Linked DNA regions of Homo sapiens: region 1 is linked to region 2. The links are contacts of gene promoters, found by promoter capture Hi-C in human tissues and cell types (Jung and others, 2019). All regions are on one chromosome and are shown on one strand. Each heading gives the region's core, a stretch centred on a gene start or on the middle of the fragment in contact. The rest is flanking DNA. Distances are from core to core; before and after follow the strand shown.

Region 1 (5,227 bases), core at 2,632-5,131, 1.7 Mb before region 2:
TCCTCATTTTGTTATACTGTACCCAAAGTTTCTAAAACTGATGTTTCCTTTCTTAATCAAAATGAGATTTACCTGCAACTGTTGCCTATGTCAATGAGTTTCAGTACATCTTCAACACATTTGACCTCCCGTTCCTGTAATCCCACCACTTGAACCTGCTGTTTTCCATCTTCTAGAACTCTTAATTTTGTTTTCCTGTTTAGCAAGTCAAACACCTATGAAAAACCATATTCAAATTAGAAAACTAGCTTTAAAGTAAAAAACAGGCTAGGTGCAATGGCTCACGCCTGTAATCCCAGCATTTTGGGAGGCTGAGGCAGGAGGATGGCTTGAGCTCAGGAGTTCAAAACCAGCCTGGGCAACATAGTGAGACCTTGTCTCTGCTAAAAATAAAACAAATTAGCTGGGCATGGTGGTGCATGCCTATAGTCGCAGCTACTAGGAAAGCTGAGGCGGGAAGCTCACTTGAGCTCAGGAGATTGAAGCTACAGTTAGCTGTGATCATGCCACTGCACTCCAGCATGGGTGACACAGCGAGATCCTGTGGCAATTAAAATATCAGTTCTATAAAAATGAGTCACCCAGAGTTTAAGAATTATTTCAGAGATTAAAATAATAATTGGAATAAGAATTCTCAACACTGAAGTTGAAAAGTTTCAAAGGACTTTTTAAAAAAATCTCATAACATAAATTCTAATATAAAAGTTCTAAATACACATAAATTATGGTGGTAAACGCTGCACAACAATGTGAATATATTTAATGCCACTGAACTTAAAAATGGTTAAAATGGCAAATGTTATGTTATATATATATTTTAAAAAATTAAAATTAAAAAAGTTCCCACTTACCTTTCCACTATAAATTTCAAAGAAGGTTGCATATACTTGAAGTTCTAGCTTCTTATAGTTTGGCTTCTTTAGCATTAAAAAGACATCTCGAGCTGTCAAAAATTTCATATACAGAAAATTGAGATCCAACAAATATTTTTAAAAAGCAACTCAAATTTTCTATTTCTAGAGGAATCAGTTACTCTTTACCTAGGATAACAGTATCAATAATAAAAATGAGAAAGTGAATATTAATTTTACAAAAAATAGTATTAATAGAAGCTATTCTCTTTCATATGCCATAAAAGGGTGCTACTTTTATTTATATATATTAATATTTATATTTATAAATAGCATAAAATTATAGGTGGTCATAATGAGGTTATTCTTATACCATAGCTAGTAGCTTTTTACAGTTCAGAAATTCAACAATTGAGACTCATCTCCAACAATGTGCTAGAATGCACTGACAAATATAATCAAGATTTCTGCCCCCTCAAAATCAATCTTACAGTTCTTTTTTTTTTTTTTGAGATGGGGTCTTGGTCTGTTGCCCAGGCTGAAGTGTAGTGGCATGATCTTGGCTCACTGCAACCTCTGCTTCCTGGGTTCAAATGATCAAACAATTCTGCCTCAGCCTCCTGAGTAGCTGGGATTACAGGCGCCCGCCACCACGCCTGGCTAAGTTTTTTTTTGTATTTTTAGTAGAGATGGAGTTTCACCATGTTGGCCAGGCTGGTCTCGAACTCCTGACCTCAAGTGATCCACCCACCTTGGCCTCCCAAAGTGCAGGGATTACAGGCATGAACCACCACACCCAGCCTACAGTTCTTGTCTTCTTAAAAAAAAAAAAAATTATTGTGAATATATAATCTTATAGTTCTTTTCAAGCAATCTAATAACCTATAATTGACATAATAGACAGTTAATATAGCATTATAGTTGCTGAACAATATTTTAAAGCCTTATTTCAAAGTTACCTGAATAATACCACAGAAGAATATTCCAAATTTTATGGAAAAAGGACAGTTACCTGCTAATGCATAAATTCCTTTAGAACAATCTTGGTTCTTTCCTGAAAAGTCACCACCCATAGTCTATATTTTAAAAAGAAAATAAAGAACAGACATTACTCAGGAATAACTCTTAAGAATTTAGTTCACAGAATTAAGCTATAAGGAAAAGAAACTGTAGCTTCGTACCAGAATGTAACTTTAATAAATTACTTACATGAGTTTTTCCACTTCCAGTCTGCCCATAAGCAAAGCATGTAGCCATTCCCCTTTCAAATATAGTTTCCACTAGTGGTCTAGCAGTAAACCTTAAAAATAAAATGCATCAGTCAGAATGTGTCACCAATATTTTGATGAATAATAGTAATGCTGAGTAATACAAAGTATTTTATTAATAAATAAAACTTAATAGCAAGATTCTAAACAAATCTTTGTTAAAAATTTTAAATAACAATATCGAAGAATTGATTTAAGAATTTTAAATATCATATGCTAAAATTACTTAAACTACTTAAAGCATAATTTCAAGCAATATTTCCATAATAAATAATGGTCACAATAAGGCATATACAATAAAAACAAACACAAAGTATTATAATTTCAACAGAAACAGAATAAACAAGAGTGGTAATCTCAATTTTAAAAAGTTAATAGAGGAAAAAAACTGCAAAAATATTATCTATAGACCATCTAAATAAATAGAAAAATGTTGATTACCTTGAATTTAGACAAGTAATTTATACTTAAGCAAAAAGAATATAAATTGTGCTTGTAGGAAAATGAATTCTATTAGTAAGTTGACACTCTCAATTTAGGAAAAGGATACCTAAATATTATGGTTTGAATTACATTTTTTTTTTTTTGAGACGAAGTCTCGTTCTCGTCCCCCAGGCTGGAGTGCAAATGGCGCGATCTCAGCTCACTGCAACCTCCGCCTCCCGGGTTCAAGTGATTCTCCTGCCTCAGCCTCCCGAGTAGCTGGGATTACAGGCACCTGCCACCACACCCAGCTAATTTCTGTATTTTTAGTAGAGACGTGGTTTCACCACGTTGGTCAGGCTGGTCTCAAACTCCTGACCACAGGCGATCTGCCCGCCTTGGCCTCCCAAAGTGCTGGGATTACAGGCATGAGCCACCGCACCCGGCCTTGAATTATATTTCAAATGTATTGGTATAACCCACTGCTAGAGTTAAAATAAAAAGGTGGGAAGGTATAAGAAGTACTTTTCCCCTGAGCAGTACACTAAAAAGTATGATGGAGGCCAGGCGTGGTGGCTCATGCCTGTAATCCCAACACTTTGGGAGGCTGAGGTGGGTGGATCACTTGAGGTCAGGAGTTCGAGACCGGCCTGACCAACATGGTGAAACCCCGTCTCTACTAAAAATACAAAATTAGCTGAACGTGGTGGCACACGCCTGTAATCCCAGCTACTCAGGAGGCTGAGGCAGGAGAATCGCTTGAACTGGGAGGCAGAGGTTGCAGTGAGCCGAGATCATGCCACTGCACTCCAGCCTGGGCGACAAGAGCAAAACTCAGCCTCAAAAAAACAAAAAAAAAAAAAGATGGAAAACAGATCTACAAGTAGAACATTTTATATAACTGCTGTCTTTGTTTTGTTTTGTAAAAGGCAAAACTGAAGAAAGTACAGAACAAAAGGAGCAGGAAAAAGTTCTGGTCAAACAGAACTAGGGATGAGCCTGCTAAGTAGATCAAACCCCTACCTCCCAACCCTACCCACAAAAAAACATGTAACTCCTCAATCCATAATAGTTAAGTATAAGAGATAGAGGAGAAGGATAAATATTGATAAAGTTAAGAAACATAAACATAGGGTAAAAACACAATGTTTACTAAATCATACACACAGAAACATGCCTGTATTTGTAATAATTTCTTAAAAACTATTATAAAAGTCAAACTTATATTTTATGAGGCAGGAGTAGAAAGAGGGAATGAAAAGGAAAAGTGGACTCTTCAGAAAGCTAAAAAAAAATTCTACAATTAACAATTATGATTCCCCTTTAAACATATTCTTCACAAATATCTCTATCTAGTATTCATATGTCCTTTAATTTGATCCTTTTTTTTTTTACAACTGACTACCCAGTACACTTGGTGAAGACAAAAAGAGTTGGTCTCAAAAGTATTTCCTTTGTAACACCTTCAATTCTTAGTCTCATTAACTCTAATTTTTTCCTTTCTAGGCATTTTTATGAAAAAGGGCAATCAGATATAGTATTCAAGCAATTACAAAGACAGTAATATTCCTAGATAAACCAAAATAACAATACTGCTAAAACTGGTGTTATAATTATTAGAAATGAATGTTTGCAAACTTACGTATGAAAATCTAAATCTGGCATAAAAATTTGAGATACCAATGTATAACACAGATAAATTTGAATTATTTTTAAGTTGAATACAGAAAACATACAAGAATCTCATGTACTAAAACTATCTCCAAGCTTAAAGATGACAAATTTAAATACAAGTACGGAACTTTTTCGCCTTAAGTGACAATACATACTAAATACAGATTTAGATAAATTAATAATTAACTGATAACAGGTATTTTGGCCAGGCATAACAGTGGCTCATGCCTGTAATCCCAGCACTTTGGGAAGCCAAGGCGGGCAGATCACTTGAGCTCAGGAGTCTGAGGTTAGCCTGGGCAACATGGCGAAACCTCAACTCTACAAAAAGTACAAAAATTAGCTGGGTGTGGTGGTGCATGCCTGTGGTCCCAGCTACTCAGGAGGCTGAGATGGGAGGATCACCTGAGCCTGGAAGGTCGAGGCTGCAGTGAGCTGTGATCGTGCCACTGCACTCCAGCCTGGGCAACAGAGCAAGACCATGCCTCAAACAAACATTTCAAGTTTCTTTATTAGTACAGAGATTAAAAGGTAAAAATTAAAAGTCTTCTTATCATATCCTATTCCTAGAGGTAATGTTAACATTTTCCCGAAATTTCTTATCCATATACATGGTTTGTGTGATATGTATATATATGTATATATATGTGTAATAAGCTAATTAGCAAATAGTAATGGAAACTATGATTTTGGGGAGCATTACAGAGAACAAGTGTTAATATTCATTACAGCATTTATTACATTCTCTTTGTTTAAACTCAGAATAAAACAGCATATTGCACCTCTTAAGAAATATCCCACAATCAATGTAAATTTCAAGGTGCTGATGACCACATGGCATAAGAACAAAATTCTGATTTAAAATGAATTTACCTACCTGTAAACCATTTCATTAGGAGCTGAGTCATCAAAGGCATAATCAAAACGAAATGTTTGGTTTTCTAGGTACCTTGTTAAATCTACTTTTTGTTTTGGTTCATGTACCATCACAACATCTTTACTAGGAATTGT
Region 2 (5,337 bases), core at 287-2,786:
TAGGAGTTGGGCAAGTGGGCTCAAGTATGCGCCTGTGGACAGCTCACTCTAAGGGAAGAATCAGGAGAGAAGTAATGCAAAGCCCCAAAAGCAAGACCCCAGAAGTATGCCAACGTATAAAACCCCAGGTCAAAAGGTCAAACTACGCACTAGATCTCTCAAGTCACTGGCTTGGCCCTCTTCCAAGTGTACTTCCTTTCATTCAAAGCTTTTTAATAAACTTCACTTCTGTTCTAATACTTGCCTTGGTCTCTCCTTTTGCCTTATGCCCCTCAGTCGAACTCTTTCTTCTGAGGAGTCAAGAATTGAGGTTGCTGCAGATCTGTAGGAATTCACTGCCTGTAACATACTTTGGGGCCGTGTCTCGGATATGGGCAGCTGCTAACATATTTTGGTGCCCTGTGACTCGAGTTAACTTCCACAGCTCACAAAGGCAGTAACATTTTCTAGGGAGTCACTAGAAGATATATGTAAAAAATCTCCTATATCTCCTAGTGGAAGATAGGGTTACTTCGTTAAGAATGTTTATTCAGGTCCACTGCAGCCTTCAATTCCAAGCCTTTGGTGATAAAGGCTATTTTCTCACCGTGGTAGGGAGAGGATGCCCATCCCAGAGAAATCTTTGTGGCCTGCTGCATCGAAGAGGCAGGTCAGCTTGCCCTTTCTGAAACTACCATTTCTCCAATGTTTTCCGCTCGAAATAATCAATATACCAATTAGGCATATTTTGGAATGGCACACCTTCACTCCTTCAACGTCTTGTCCTGGGTACTTACCGAGATGACCAAATTTGAGTAGGTGTACAGAGTCCTAAGTATATGGAGTTACTTCATTTGTCCCTCTGAAAGATTGCAAATCGGACTAGCAATTCCCAGGGGGAAAATTCTAAGCAGTCAAAAAAGGACTCACAACCCTATTGCCGAGGACTAAAAGTATCAGCCCAATACAAAACATAGAACTCAAATTAAAGGGGAAAAGACTATCATGAGAACAAACAGAAGAGGAATCGGGGCTCCCTTCCCGCTCTTTATTGCCCTTAACACACTGTCTACGCTCCTTGTGCTCTCTATCCCGTTTTTAAATGTCCCTACACTGGTAAAAGCTGTCGCCTCGCTTCATTTCACTACCGCTTCTCCCAGCGTTAGCAGCACCTCCAGGCTCACAGTGCACTTGGTAGGGAGGACAGGTATTTATCCACGCGGCCCAAAGCTGGGTTTCGGTCGCTGGATAACACCTATTATTGACCCTTTTGTAGAGATAGCGTTGCGTGTGTTTGTGTTGCGCGGACGCAGAAATCTGGGAAGGGCGCTGCACAGCGTTTTCCAGCGCTGGGGAGACGCCCCCGGCCCCTTAGTCGCACCTGCCTAGGTGTGCTCGCACGGTGGGACCAGGGTGGGCAACAGATTTCGCCCCGGGCAAGTTCGCACGCGGAGCTCCCAGCGCCGCGGGTCTCGGAGAAGACGCCTGCCTCCCCGCGCATTTCCGGTGACGTGCTGCCGCGCCGCCCAATCAGCGCCCGCAGCCCGCGGGCTTGGGATTCAAACTGCTGCTCCTCCGGCTGGCGGGGATCAGCGCTGGCGCGGCTGCGGCCGCTGCTGCCTACGCGCCATGGAGCATCGCATCGTGGGGCCCGGGCCGTACCGAGCTACCAGGCTGGTGAGTGAGTGTGCTGGGGCCTGGGCGGAGCACCCGGTGCCGCGAGCCCCCACTCAGCGCGCGGACAGAGTGCTTGTCAGTCTTCGCTTCCGCAGGCCAGCGGGGCTCGGGTGTGGAGCATTTCAGCTGGGACTACTGGGGCTGCCTTTTAGTGGACGAGCCTCAAAGAAAGGCTAACGGGGCCCAGAGCTCAGCCGGCCGGGGGTTAGTGCAGCTTTGTCCATGAGATGTTGACTGGGTTCTCGGCAGTAGATGGCGCCTCTCTGTTTAAAGACCCCAAGACCAGGCTGTTCCCTGCCTTTTGTCCTCTGGAATCTAACCGACCCGGTCGGTAACCTGAGGGGCCACCACGTACCCCGTAACGCTCAGCGTTCGCGGCAGTCCAGGCAGGGCGTGTCTCCTTCCTGAGTGACACCTGATGATACCTGACGGGGTATTCGAATAAACGGTGCCCAGAACAGAGGGGCATCGCGCTGGCCGCATTTCCGGCCCCTGGCGTTTCTGTTTCTGTCAGCACCGATCCAGATGAAGAGCTGGCCAGGACAGATGTTTTAGGAGAGTCTTTGCCGACTCTGAGTTCCTGTTTTTTTTTTTTTTTTTTTCTGGGAGAAAAGCTTTGGTATTGAGGTGTACTTGGTCTGCTTTGACTTGGAACAATAAAGGGTGACAGTTTGGTAATGTCTGTGGCAAGTTTTTAGAGGACTTTCTGTGGAAGTGTAATGGTAATTTGGGAGGACAGTAACTTGCTCCTTGGTCTGCCGACCTCTCTGGCCACATTTAACATGGGAATTACTCTCATAGTTCCATGCATTATAATGAATACACAGGAAAAGATGGGAACTAACATCCAAACTCTTACTCAGCTAGACTCATGGAAGAGGTGAGGATGCTGGGATACAGATAATGTAAATAGAGTTTCCTTTTCTTTCCAAAGCCAGCCACACACTATACCAGTAAGTCAAGCCAGAGCTGAGAAGGCCAGCTTCTGGAAGAGAAATCATAGTTGGGGCTGATGGGTCTTTACTTTTTAAATTTGGCTCATAGATCGCTTTGAGAATCTGATGAAGATTAAGGATCTTCTTCACAGAAAACTGCACATGGCACATACTCATGAAATTTTACATGATTTAAGGGGATGGATCGCTTGAGGTCAGGAGTTCGAGACCAGCCTGGCCAACACAGCAAAACCCCGTCTGTACTAAAAATACAAAAATTAGCTGGGCATGGTGGCATGCGCCTATAGTCTCAGCTACTCAGGAGGCTGAGGCAGGAGAATCTCTTGAACCTGGGAGGCAGAGGTTGCAGTGAGCTGAGATCGCGCCATTGCACTCCAGCCTGGGCAACGAGCGAAACTCCATCTCAAAAAAAAAAAAAAATAATAAGGAGATTGGGAGAGTCTGTGACATTGTTTTATTTGGCATAAAGACAAGCATTTTATTTGCTCATCCTTTGGATCAGTAATCTGGGCTAGACTCATGTCAATGGTTCTTTTGTGGAGGTCACTCATGTGCCACAAATAATGTGACTTGGCTATTACTGGATGATGGAAGATGGCTGCTTGACTTGGTCCTGGCTGTTACCTGGGCCAGATATCTCTAACAGGTTATCGGAGGCATCTTCACGTAGTGGTCTCATGGTTCCAACGTAGCTAAAAGGAAGTTTCAGCTTGTGACTTTTTCTTCAAATCTCATTGGTCAAAGCAAGTTAAACAGCTAAATCCAGATTCTAGAAATTCAACTCCACTTCTTGATGGGCAGGGTGGCAAAGCCACAGAGGTGCATGTGGAGAGGATGGGAAGAATCATTGCACTCATCTTTGCGAACACTCTATACAGTATAGACACCAGAATGATCTGGGGTCAAGAATATTGATAAGTCTAACTTTAGGGAGGAAAATAAGGCATTTGATCATTCCCTTCACCAATTTATTTACAGCACTTACACAAGGAAAACATAGCAAGGCTGTGGTTCTTGACGTGACTAGTCTTCATTCTTCCTGCATTAGACTAAAAAAAAAATACCTCATAATTGGAATTGTATTTTAGTCTCATATTCACAGAATTGTATGAGGTACTTCTTTTCATGGATGCAGAGGGTCCATATATAGATAGTGCTGGATTCTTGAGTCACATTAAAATATTATCAAAGGAATTTGTTTAATTAAAAAAAGGTGCTCTCTGCTCTCTAGAAGTCTTCAGTCCCTAACAAATAATATTCAGGCTAAATTTAGGTTGATTAAGTTAAGAAGATAAATGACATGGATAATTAATGAAACAAACACCTCAGTTTCACCAGAATTTCCCAGGTAATCAATTCAGTTCTCAACTTCATAGTGTTTGAGGAACATAATATTAAACTAAGATGTGGAAAACAGAAAACAATAGCCAATTTTTTTTTTCAAAAGTGAGTATTCCTGCTGTCAGTGATTGCAGCCAACATTGAAGATGCTTCTTTCCATTGTAAAGTCTGTAATTGTTTCCCCAGTGTAATTCAGCTGTGACTTAAAGCTTTTGCTAGGTAAATCATATATTTAATAGTTTGAGACTAGTCCTCTTTTTACTTGTTGGACCTAGTTGGCCTTTCCTCCCTCTATCTGCAGCATACAATTTCTCCCTTTTCCCATCATGCTCATTCTAAACTTTCTTCAGGGGAAGCTTGGTAAAAATCTATTGGGATACAAAAACTAGGCCTTTATTTTCTCCTTTCATGGCTCACTTTACTTTCTCAAAGCATGTACAGCTTTAGAAAAAGCTCTTTGGTGCTTTTTCTAAAGCACCAAAGTCTTATTTGAAAATAACATTTTGTGGATTAGGTAAAATGTTATGACAAAAGTCAAATGACAGCCCCAACTCATGATAAATGTGAAGCTAGTTATCCATTTATACATTTTCACTGAAATAACTTTCATCTTTGTAAACTTGGTATAAATAGTTCATTCAAGTAGAGAGAAAAATTTTTTTTCTAGAAACTGCTTAAATCTTTGAACTTATTCTGAGTTATATATATGGTCTGATGCAACTGATAAATTTTAAAAGACATACAGCTTTCATTGAATCTGAGAGTTAGAATGGCAAGATCACACAACGAGGTTGTGGCAAGTGCAAGTAGATCTAGGAGTGGTTGTCACTGAACTCCCAGACCAGTCAGTTTTCTTTATAGCACCGCTATCATAATATTTTTGGTACTAAGAAGAAATGAAATGGAATATCCTGGAGAAAAGAACAGGATGCACAGCAGTAGGTGTATGTCTTATAGTTTGCCTCATCATGTTAAGAAAAAACAATTGTGTGATTTTATTTTTTCCTGAGAAACTAGGGGACTGAAATTAATAAGTAGAGCAAAACAAAAAGTGTTTTAAAATCATAAAACAAATCTGTTTTGTTCCATTTGTTGTAAAGATTCTCTTCAAATATAATGTCATGAAAAAAAAACTCAAGCTCTTTCTTGTTATTTATTGACAGAGGATATTTTGTTTCCAAAAGTGACTGAGAATGGTATATTGTTAGATTATTTAAAGATACTTATTTTTCTTTCTGAGCAGAGTAGCCAAATAACCCCTTAGTTATATTTGGAAATAAGTGGGAACAGAGACCAAAGTGACCTCAGTAGGCTTTAAAAAATCTAAAGTATTTCATATATTAAGGAAATATAACCCATAATGATAAATGCCATTCAAAATCAA

What was found. Contacts are between HindIII fragments. The study calls those that stand out against the background at their distance.
Region 1: a fragment that was not itself captured here is called in contact with the fragment with the promoter of DEPDC1B in region 2 in 1 of the 25 tissues and cell types used here (hippocampus).

Annotation. Positions count from the first base shown.
Region 1 is chr5:62,358,166-62,363,392 of GRCh38, reverse strand. KIF2A (kinesin family member 2A) reads right to left here. Exons shown (of 21, transcript NM_001098511.3): 9 at 5,094-5,227; 10 at 2,061-2,151; 11 at 1,864-1,927; 12 at 852-943; 13 at 73-215. Among named protein-coding and RNA genes, the nearest start is that of DIMT1, 43 kb to the left of the region's middle. The HindIII fragment of the contact is 5,869 bases long and covers 947-5,227 here.
Region 2 is chr5:60,696,365-60,701,701 of GRCh38, reverse strand. DEPDC1B (DEP domain containing 1B) reads left to right here and starts at 1,536. Exons shown (of 11, transcript NM_018369.3): 1 at 1,536-1,656. The coding sequence starts at 1,609. LOC124900982 (a long non-coding RNA gene) reads right to left here and starts at 1,462. Exons shown (of 2, transcript XR_007058779.1): 1 at 1,361-1,462; 2 at 1-48. The HindIII fragment of the contact is 4,370 bases long and covers 1-3,216 here.